Linked DNA regions of Homo sapiens: regions 1 and 2 are each linked to region 3. Evidence: promoter capture Hi-C in human tissues and cell types (Jung and others, 2019). All regions are on one chromosome and are shown on one strand. The core of a region is centred on a gene start or on the middle of the fragment in contact, and the rest is flanking DNA. Distances in the headings are between cores, read along the strand shown.

Region 1 (3,007 bases), core at 119-2,618, 430 kb before region 3:
TTCACTTGTCAGAGGGGGGTGCATGAAATTTGAGAGCCATGTGTTATGCATCCAGCTCTTGAACTGGTCTCAGCTTCAGCTGGCTGCAGTGCCCTAGGAAGTTACTATGGGAAAAGTGGAAATAGTTGAGGCCCAGGGAACTGATCAGGCCAGAGGAAGTGGAAGCTCAAGATCAACTGTGCTTATTTTGCTGATGGCTGGGCCTAAATGCCCCAACCACCTACTTGGGACAGGAAATGACAGGACCCTCTCAACCTTGGACTGGGAAAGGAGGGCTTCCTGGCCCCTGACAGACCCTGGGGTCCTGAGGCTACCTTAGTTGGGATTAAATGCCCGTATTGGTCTCTAGCTGTCACTCCCTCTGCTCCTTCCTCAATTTCTGCACACATCTCAGAGCTTCCTCTAGCAGCTCTTCGACCTGTTTTGTTGTTTTATTTTCTTTCTCCCCAGGTGTGAATCAACTTCTTGGGCCTTGGCTCTGAGTTGGAAAAGGTTTTAGAAAAAGTGAAGAGCTGGAATGTGGGGGAAAATAAAAAGCTTTTTTGCCCAGTGGCGTGTATGGTGTTTATTGGGGGTTGGATTGAGGTGGGGATTTTAGGGTAGGCAGGCTTAGAAGTTTTGGGGGACTCTTTCCTGTTGACTCTCTAGTTTGGACACAGGTTGGCATAGGGCATAGGTTACTTGAGCTCTCCCCATGGTTGACTTGGCTTTGGTAAACACCTGTCTTGTTTTCTTCTACGAAATAAAATGGATAATTACAGTTAGTTGGGCGGGTGGGGTGTCAGGTCATGGAAATGCTGTGACATAAATGCACTGTGACCTTGGCAAGTCTTGCAACCTGCAGCGCCTCAATTTCCGTAAGAGATTTGACCGATTGAGTTTTCCCAGCGTCGACGCGCAAAGATTCCTCGCACTTGGAGGCCCTTTTCCAGGTTAGATGGTTGCTAACCTCGGAGCAGTCTATTTTCCCGCCTTTTCCGCGCCCAGCAGCAGCTTCCTTTGCCCCTCCCAACTTCCACCCTGCGCGCAGTCGCAGATCGCCGCTGCTGTCCGTCCACCCGCGCCCCCTCAAAGCTTCCCCTAGCAACAAGCTCGGGCTCAGAGCGAAGGCGGGGCGAGCGCATGCGCTGCAGCTCTGTCCACCGCCAGTCGTGGGACAGAGTGCCGGGCTCCTCCCCTTGCAAGTCTAGCTCTTCTCCCCGCCTCCTCCGGCCTGGGGTCCGCGTGGCGGGGCGGGCGCGCACTCGGGCTTGGCGGCTGCCGGTCTCCCAGGCCGCGGCAGTGAGGAGAGAGGGCGGGGCTGAGTCCTCTGCGCCCCCGCCCCCTTTAGCCCGGCGTCCCTACCGCGCCTGCGCGCTCCCGCCCGGTCTCCATCTTGGAATTGGGAGGAAGAGGGAGAGGGAGACCGGGACGAGACCGGGGCTGTGGTGCGGAGAGAGGCTGAGACGGAGAAGAGGAGAGGCAGAGAGGGCGCGGGGACCGTCAGCAGCACCTTAGCTACAATCGTTCAGCTATTCTCGGAAGAGAGAAGGGAGAGGGAGGAGGCCGGGGCGGGAGTGGGGGCTGTCACCCTCGGACCCCGGCGTGAGAGGGGCCGTGCGGCCGGACGTCCTCGGGGTGGGCCCCCAGTCGGTGGCCGAAGACCTACAGCTCAGGCCCCTGGGTCCCAAATTTCCAGGCTTTGCCCCTCCTCCTTTCTCAGATACCCGGGTAACAGTCCTCATAGTCCAGATATCCGGGACTCGGGTCCCAACCTCTCTAAACCTGGGTCTCTGTTTCATAGAATTTCAAATATCAGGTTCAGGCCCCTGCGTGCACCAGTATCCGGGGTTCATTCCCCGGGCGTTCAAATATCGGATTCAGTCTCCATCCCGTTCAGATATTCGGGGTTCAGACCCCACAATCAGAAATCCGGAATTCGGCAGCTGTCGCCCTCGACGAGGGGGAGGACTGGACCGCGAGGTCAGATTAGGTTGTCACCCCCTCCCCTCCAGGGGAGGCTTCCCGGGCCCGCCCCTCAGGAAGGGCGAAAGCCGAGGAAGAGGTGGCAAGGGGAAAGGTCTCCTTGCCCCTCTCCCTGCTTGGCAGAGCCGCTGGAGGACCCCAGGCGGAAGCGGAGGCGCTGGGGCACCATAGTGACCCCTACCAGGTGAGACACGGGGTGCAGGGGCGCGGGTCCCTGTGTCTAGTTCTGAGAAGAAAGGGTGCGCCTTTCTGAGAAGCTGGACTTGGGTAGGCCCTCTCAGGATGGGGAAGCCCAGCTGAGCGAGTGGTCAGCCTCTGGCTAGCCTTGCCTTCTGTTGCCACCCCCTTCCCCTTCCTCTTCCCTTCATTGTGTCTGGTTGGTGGGGGACCTCAGGTGACAGGGTCTCTGATGTCACCGGCGTTCACACCCTAGGGTGCTTCAGCTAATCAGATGGATTTGCACTTCAGTCTTCTCTCCTTCACTTTGCCCCTCACAGCCACCTCTCCTCCCTGATATGTCCCGTTCTCCTGGCTATTCTGTGGTTTTGATTCCCATGCCTCTGATTCCCATGGTGGGTCTGCTTATCTGCTTTTCAGGCCTGGTCTGGTTGGATTTCTTGTCCTTGCAAGGAAGTGTGTGTATATGTGTTTGTGTGTATGCGTGTGTGTGTGTGCTTGGAGGTGCCTGGCAATGTTTTCCCCCAGCTGCAGTTACCTTCCAACCTCTTGCTGTGATGGTGTCAATAATCTCATCCATTTGTCAAACGATCTGTCTTTTACAAAGTGCTTTGACAGCCATTCTCTCATGTGACATCCCCGCATTCACCCTGTGGGGGCCTCTTTTATTGGCATCTTCCCATTTTACAGTTGAGAACGTTGAGGCCGAGAGAGGTTGCCCAAGGTCACACAGTGGCAGAACCAGAATTTGAACTCAAGTCCTCAATCACATCTTTCCCTGATGCATGCCTGGTTCTTGCCATCTCTTTTCCTCTGAGTTTGGGCTCGGCCAGGGGTCCCTAGGAGTCCAGGCTGGGGTGAGGTT
Region 2 (2,872 bases), core at 266-2,765, 390 kb before region 3:
GAGGCCCGGTCGTAGAGAAGGTCAAACTCCAGCGTGCCTAGGGCGGCTGGAGAGAGAGGAAAGGCAGCATGGGTCGGTATGGAGACAGGTGTGTGCGAGAGGCCAGCAGGTGGGCACTGGCTCTGTGTGTCTCTCTCTCTTGCCAGCCCGCGAGTGTGAGTGCAAGAGGCTGAGTGGGCCCATGCGTGTGTGCGTCTGGGTCCCTGGCTCGGCCGCAACTGGGGCTGTGTGGGTGGTGGAGTGTCTCAGCAGAAATACTGAATATTGAGCCTTGCTGAAGCTGTAATCTCCACGCTGACTGCAGCTGTGGTGGCCGTCCCTGCCACCCCCCCACTGCCCTCCTCCCCTACCTACATGCACAGCCAGCAGGGCCCATCCCCCTCTCCCCCCACCACGGCAAGCCTGGAGACCCCCACCAGCACATGGGGCCTCCAAGCCCCCAGACTCACTGGCATCATCCGAGTCATAGCTGTCCACCTCCGCACCATCCTCAGGCGTGGTGGCCCCAAGGAGGGCTGCAGGGGGGGCCAGAGCCAGGGGGACCAGATGGGCGGGGGCCTCCCCGCCGCCCCCGCCGCCCCCTTCAGGTCCTGGTCCCCGGGGGAAGTAGTCAGAGATCTGGCGGATGGGCCGGATGGGCCCGGGGCACACGTTGATGGCCATGTGCTCCTGGATGTTGATGGTCATGCGATCGCCCCTGCGGCCCCTCATGCAGCACCCCTGGCTAGGAGAGGGCGTGTGAGCCAGTGAGCCCATCATACCTAGCCATCCTGGCTGAGGGCCAGGCGACGGCCTCCTCGGTCTGTGGGGCCCTCACTGGCCTCCCTTCCTAGGTGTCGAGGGAGAGGGTGGTGTGTGCCAGCCGGTGGCAGGTGGGAGGCCTGGGCCCTGCAGACCCCAAGCTGACTCCACAGGGGCTGGGCTGCCAACCCACTCCTTGCAGAAGTCGAGGTTGCACCACCCCGTCCTCACCCACCCACTTCTAGGTTGTCCCTGTATCATCTTGCCAGCTCCTTCCTCTCCTCCGGGGCTCCCCTCTGCTCCTGAGCCTGCCTGTCCCCCAAGGGGCCCTGCAGGGCCCCGCCTCTGTTTCTCGGAGGCTCTGTCCTCCTCTGCACCAGGCGCTGGTCTAGTCAGGGTGTCACCCACCCCTCTAGGCTCCAACTGCCCACTGTCCCCTCATTCAGCCCCAGGACCTGTCTGCCTGCCTGGTTCCCCCGCTCGCTCACCACAGCCCACGGTGGAGACCCCAGCCTCAGATGCCACCTCTGGCTCCTCAGGGGAGCCAGAAATTGCAGCCGCAGGAGAGCCGAACACCCCCGTAGCGCACACAGGCTGGCACGCTTCCCCGCACCCTCACGCCCCCGGCCTGCCCAGCCCCCTGCACCTGCCTCTGCCTCCAACAGGTGCCCAGGCACTGGGGGGACGGCGGGCGCAGGCTGGGCGGCGGCGGCCGGCGAGGAGAGCGCGGAGTCGAGCTGTGCGAGCCGAGAGGGAGGGAGCGCCGAGAAAGTGCGGGGAGGAGGGGGTGAGCGAGGTGGAGGCGAGGATGCAGCCGGCGCGGCGGCGGGGGACGGGGAGGGGCGCTGGGGCTGGGGAGGGGGCGGGATCTCGGACTCCCACCCGGGGCCCGCTCGGGAGCGCACGCGAGCGCGCACACACACGTGTGCTCGCGCGCGCACACTCACGCAGGGGCACGCGGACCGGCACACACTCGTGTGCACACATCCAACCGGGCACCCCCGCGCGCACACGCCCGTGCCCACGTGTGCACGCTCACACCCTTGCACACACCCAGGCGCGCGCTGGCACACTTACCCGGAGAACTTCGCACACACACGCACTCGCAAACACGCGGGCTCCCTGCGCCACCAGGAAGCAGCCGCCAGAATCGCCGGGTGTTCCCCAACTACTCCTGGGAGACCTGGCCCCCCGCCCCCGCCCGCGCGCGCGGCCACGGCGCCTCCCTCCCTCCCGGGTCCCCAAGGCCGGACCACCGGCCTCGTTGTCATGGCGACGCCGGCTCATCTCCCCCCACCCCCGCGCGTCTTCACGCCCCTCCCCCGCAGGGAGCTGGGGCCTCCCTCCTCCCTTCCCCACGTCCGTAGGGACCCACAGGTTGACAGGAGCAGGGGGTCGCCTGCTGTCACCGGCCGGGGATCTCGGGGTCTCCCGAGCCAGGCTGGGGAGCCTCACGATCTGAGGGAGGAGGCAGAGGTCTGATGCTGCGGCTTCCCCCACGCCCCCTCCCTTTGGCCGTTCAGGCCTCTCTCCTTGTGGCCCAACCCAACTCCCAGGGGCCCATGTCCCCTTACCAGGGATGGTATCTCCTTTGGGAACCACCCTCCCCCCTGCCATCCCCAGTTCTGCCCCGCAGGTGGGAAGGGGCGTCGGGGCTTGGCTCTGAAGGTCTCAGAGCCCTGCGGTAGTTCCCCATGGGCTGCCATTTCTCACCCAAACCTTGCCACCCCCAAGCCGCCCCCCTGCCCGGCCCTGCGCCTGCCACGGAGTGTCAGTCCACCCCTGGCCTTCGGTCTTCACTCACCTGTGCCCCAAACTTACCATCCCGAAGACACGAAGGGGCTTATCACCCTCGCTGCCCACCACTGACTCACCCAACCGTTTCCTGCAGTTCCTGGGACACACCTAGACGGCTCAGGCCTAGGGATCTTGGCTCACATGCGCTCCTCTACCTGGGAACCGCGCTTCCTTAGGAAGTCACCGTGGGTCCCCTCTTCCTAGGAGCCTTCCTGGGGCATCCCGCACTGCCCCTCAGCTCCAGCGCCGTCAGGACTCGGCTCAGCACCGCTTCGCCAGTGCCTCCCCCACCAGCAGGGAGTTCCACTGGAGCGGCTGATTCATCTGGGAGTCC
Region 3 (2,800 bases), core at 143-2,642:
CAAGAAGCCTACTCTGACCCTCGTCTGGGTTAGTTACAATCCCCTTCTCTGAGCAACCCGTCTCTGAGCACCTAACACATGAAGAGCTTCTTGAGGATAGTTACTCACTCAACAGCTGCACCTATTGTGTGCTGCATACTGGGATAGAAAGATAAACAAGACAAAGTCCCTGACCTGTTTTTATGCGGGAGATAGACATTGAACAAATAATTACAAGTGAGGTGAGAAATGTCCAGCAAACCTATGAGCTGGAAAGAATCCTCTGTGATCCAAAGGCCTTTCCAGGCCAGGTGTGGCTCAGGCCTGTCATCCCAGCATTTTGAGAGGTTGAGGCAGGAGGCCAGGAGGCCAGGAGTTCGAGACCAGCCTGGGCAACATAGTGAGACCTCTCTACAAAAAATACAAAAATTAGGTGGAATGCACCTGTAGTCCCAGCAACTCAGGAGGCTGAGGTGGGAGGATCGCTTGGCCCCAGGAAGTTGAGGCTGCAGTGAGCCATGATCATGCCACTGCACTCCATCCTGGGCAAAAGAGCAAGATCTTGTCTCCAAAAAACAAAAACGACCCCCGCCACCACCAGAAAATACTGTAATCCCAGCTACTCGGGAGGCTTGAGGCAGGAGGATCGCTTGTGCCTGGGAAGTCAAGGTTGCGGTGAGCTGTGACTGCACACTGCACTCCAGCCTGGGGGACGGAGTGAGACCCTGTCTCAAAATATATATATATATTTCCACAAACTACTGCCTCCTTGCCAATCTGGCAAAGTCCCACTCATCTTTAGTTTTTGTTTGCTTGTTTTTTTTACAGATGAGCTCTCACTATATTGCCCAGGCTGGAATACAGTAGCTATTCACAGGCACATAGTGCACTATAGCCTTGAACCCCTGGGCTCCAGCAGTCCTCCTGCCTCAGCCTCCTAAGTAGCTGGGACCATAGGTGTGCGTCACCACACCTGACACCCACTCATCTTTCAAGGTCCTTCACAGTTACCTTCTCAGTGAGACCAGCACGAAATACCTAATACCCCCGAAAGAGTGGTTCACTTACCCCACTCTTCTCCTGCTAGAACACCCTGTTATCCTTTTCTTATATCACTCATACTGTATATTTAGAGATCTATTTTAAATCAGAAGCTTCTTTTTTTTTTTTTTTTGAGACAGAGTCTCACTTTGTCACCCAGGCTGGAGTGCAGCATGCAATATCGGCTCACTGCAGCCTCAACCTCCCAGGTTCAAGTGCTCCTCCTGCCTCAGCCGCACAAGTATCTGGGACTACAGGCACGTGCACTATTATGCTCAGCTAATTTTCTTTTTTTTGGTGATTTTTGTACAGACGGGGTTTCACCACGTTTCCCAGGCTTGTCTCCAACTCCTGAGCTCAAGCAATCCACCTGCCTCAACCTCCCAAGGTGCTAGGATTACAGGTGAGAGCCACCACGCCCAGCCCACAAGCTGCTGCTGCTGCTGCTTCTTCTTCTTCTTCTTCTTCTTCTTCTTCTTCTTCTTCTTCTTCTTCTCCTTTTCTTCTTCTTCCTCTTCCTATTCCTCTTCTTCTTCTTCTTCCTCCTTCTCCGTCTTCTTTTTTTTTTAAGACAGGGTCTTGCTCTGTTGCCCAGGCTGGAGTGCAGTGGCACGATCTCAGCTTACTGCAACCTCCACCTCCTGGGTTCAAGCGATTCTCATGCTTTAGCCTCCCAAATAGCTGGGATTACAGGCGTGTGCCACCATGCCCAGCTAATTTTTGTATTTTTAGTAAAGACAGGGTTTCGCCATGTTGGCCAGACTGGTCTTGAACTCCTGACCTCAAGCGACTACCCACTTTGGACTCCCAAAGTGTTGGTATTACAGGTATGGGCCATTGCTCCTGGCCCCAAAAACTTATTTTTTTTTTTTTTTGAGACAGAGTTTAAGCAATTCTCCTGCCTCAGCCTCCCAAGTAGCTGGGACTATAGACATGCGCTACCACACTAGGCTAATTTTTGTATTTTTAGTAGAGATGGGGTGTTGGCCAGGCTGGTCTCGAACTCCTGACCTCAGGTGATCCACCTGCCTCAGCCTCCCAAAGTGCTGCGATTATAGGTGTGACCACCGCGCATGGCCCAAAAACTTCTTTACTAGACTATGAGATCCTCAAGAACATGAACTAGATCGTATTGCAAGTAGATACCTGTACATGGTTGCAGGGCAAATCGATGGAGCCCTTTACCTTCTTTTTCCAAGTTCCTATTTAAAACAGCAGGAGGCTCCTTCCAGTAGGGACTTTCACTGCCAGAGACAGGCTCCTGGCTGAGTCTCCTCACTGATTCTCTCTTAATCAGAGCGAGATGCTTTGCTTTCGCTAGAGGTTGGGTTCTGGCCAAGTTTACCCTCTGCCTACCTCTCCTCCATCTCCCTTGCTACATTTCCCCTTGTTCACTCCCTTGGATGCTCAGATCCAGCAACACAAGTCTTCTTCCTATTCCTCAAACACACAAGCTTCTGCCTCAAGGCCTCTGCAGTTCAGTCTCAAACACTCTTCTTCCAGATTTTCAAATGGCTAACCCTTTCTCATCATTCAAGGTTCATCTCAAATATTGTATCCAGGCCGGGCGCGGTGGCTCACGCCTATAATCTCAGCAGTTTGGGAGGCCGAAGCAGGTGGATCACTTGAGGTCAGGAGTTCGAGACCAGCCTGGCTCACATAGTGAAACCCCCTTCTCTACTGAAAATACAAAAAATTAGCCAGGCATGGTGGCAGGCACCTGTAATCATAGCTACTCGGGAGGCTGAGGCAGGAGAATTGAACCCGGGAGGCAGAGGTT

What was found. Contacts are between HindIII fragments. The study calls those that stand out against the background at their distance.
Region 1: a contact is called between the fragment with the promoter of TAOK2 here and a fragment that was not itself captured in region 3, in 1 of the 25 tissues and cell types used here (dorsolateral prefrontal cortex).
Region 2: a contact is called between the fragment with the promoter of DOC2A here and a fragment that was not itself captured in region 3, in 5 of the 25 tissues and cell types used here (IMR-90 fibroblasts, dorsolateral prefrontal cortex, lymphoblastoid cells and 2 more).

What each region holds. Positions count from the first base shown.
Region 1 is chr16:29,972,500-29,975,506 of GRCh38, forward strand. It overlaps TAOK2 (TAO kinase 2), which reads left to right and starts at 1,369. Exons shown (of 16, transcript NM_016151.4): 1 at 1,369-2,149. It overlaps TMEM219 (transmembrane protein 219), which reads left to right. Exons shown (of 6, transcript NM_001083613.2): 6 at 451-549. It overlaps LOC124903762, which reads left to right and starts at 1,123. Exons shown (of 2, transcript XM_047435036.1): 1 at 1,123-1,281; 2 at 1,498-2,136. The coding sequence starts at 1,123. The coding sequence ends at 2,136. RefSeq lists a silencer at 1,059-1,428 and enhancers at 1,852-2,623, 2,330-2,459. The HindIII fragment of the contact is 10,689 bases long and covers 806-3,007 here.
Region 2 is chr16:30,009,512-30,012,383 of GRCh38, forward strand. DOC2A (double C2 domain alpha) reads right to left here and starts at 1,516. Exons shown (of 11, transcript NM_003586.3): 1 at 1,392-1,516; 2 at 450-724; 3 at 1-46. The coding sequence starts at 711. RefSeq lists a silencer at 1,423-1,482. The HindIII fragment of the contact is 30,604 bases long and covers 1,356-2,872 here.
Region 3 is chr16:30,401,818-30,404,617 of GRCh38, forward strand. No RefSeq gene overlaps it. Among named protein-coding and RNA genes, the nearest start is that of ZNF771, 4.4 kb to the right of the region's middle. The HindIII fragment of the contact is 5,860 bases long and covers 1-2,800 here.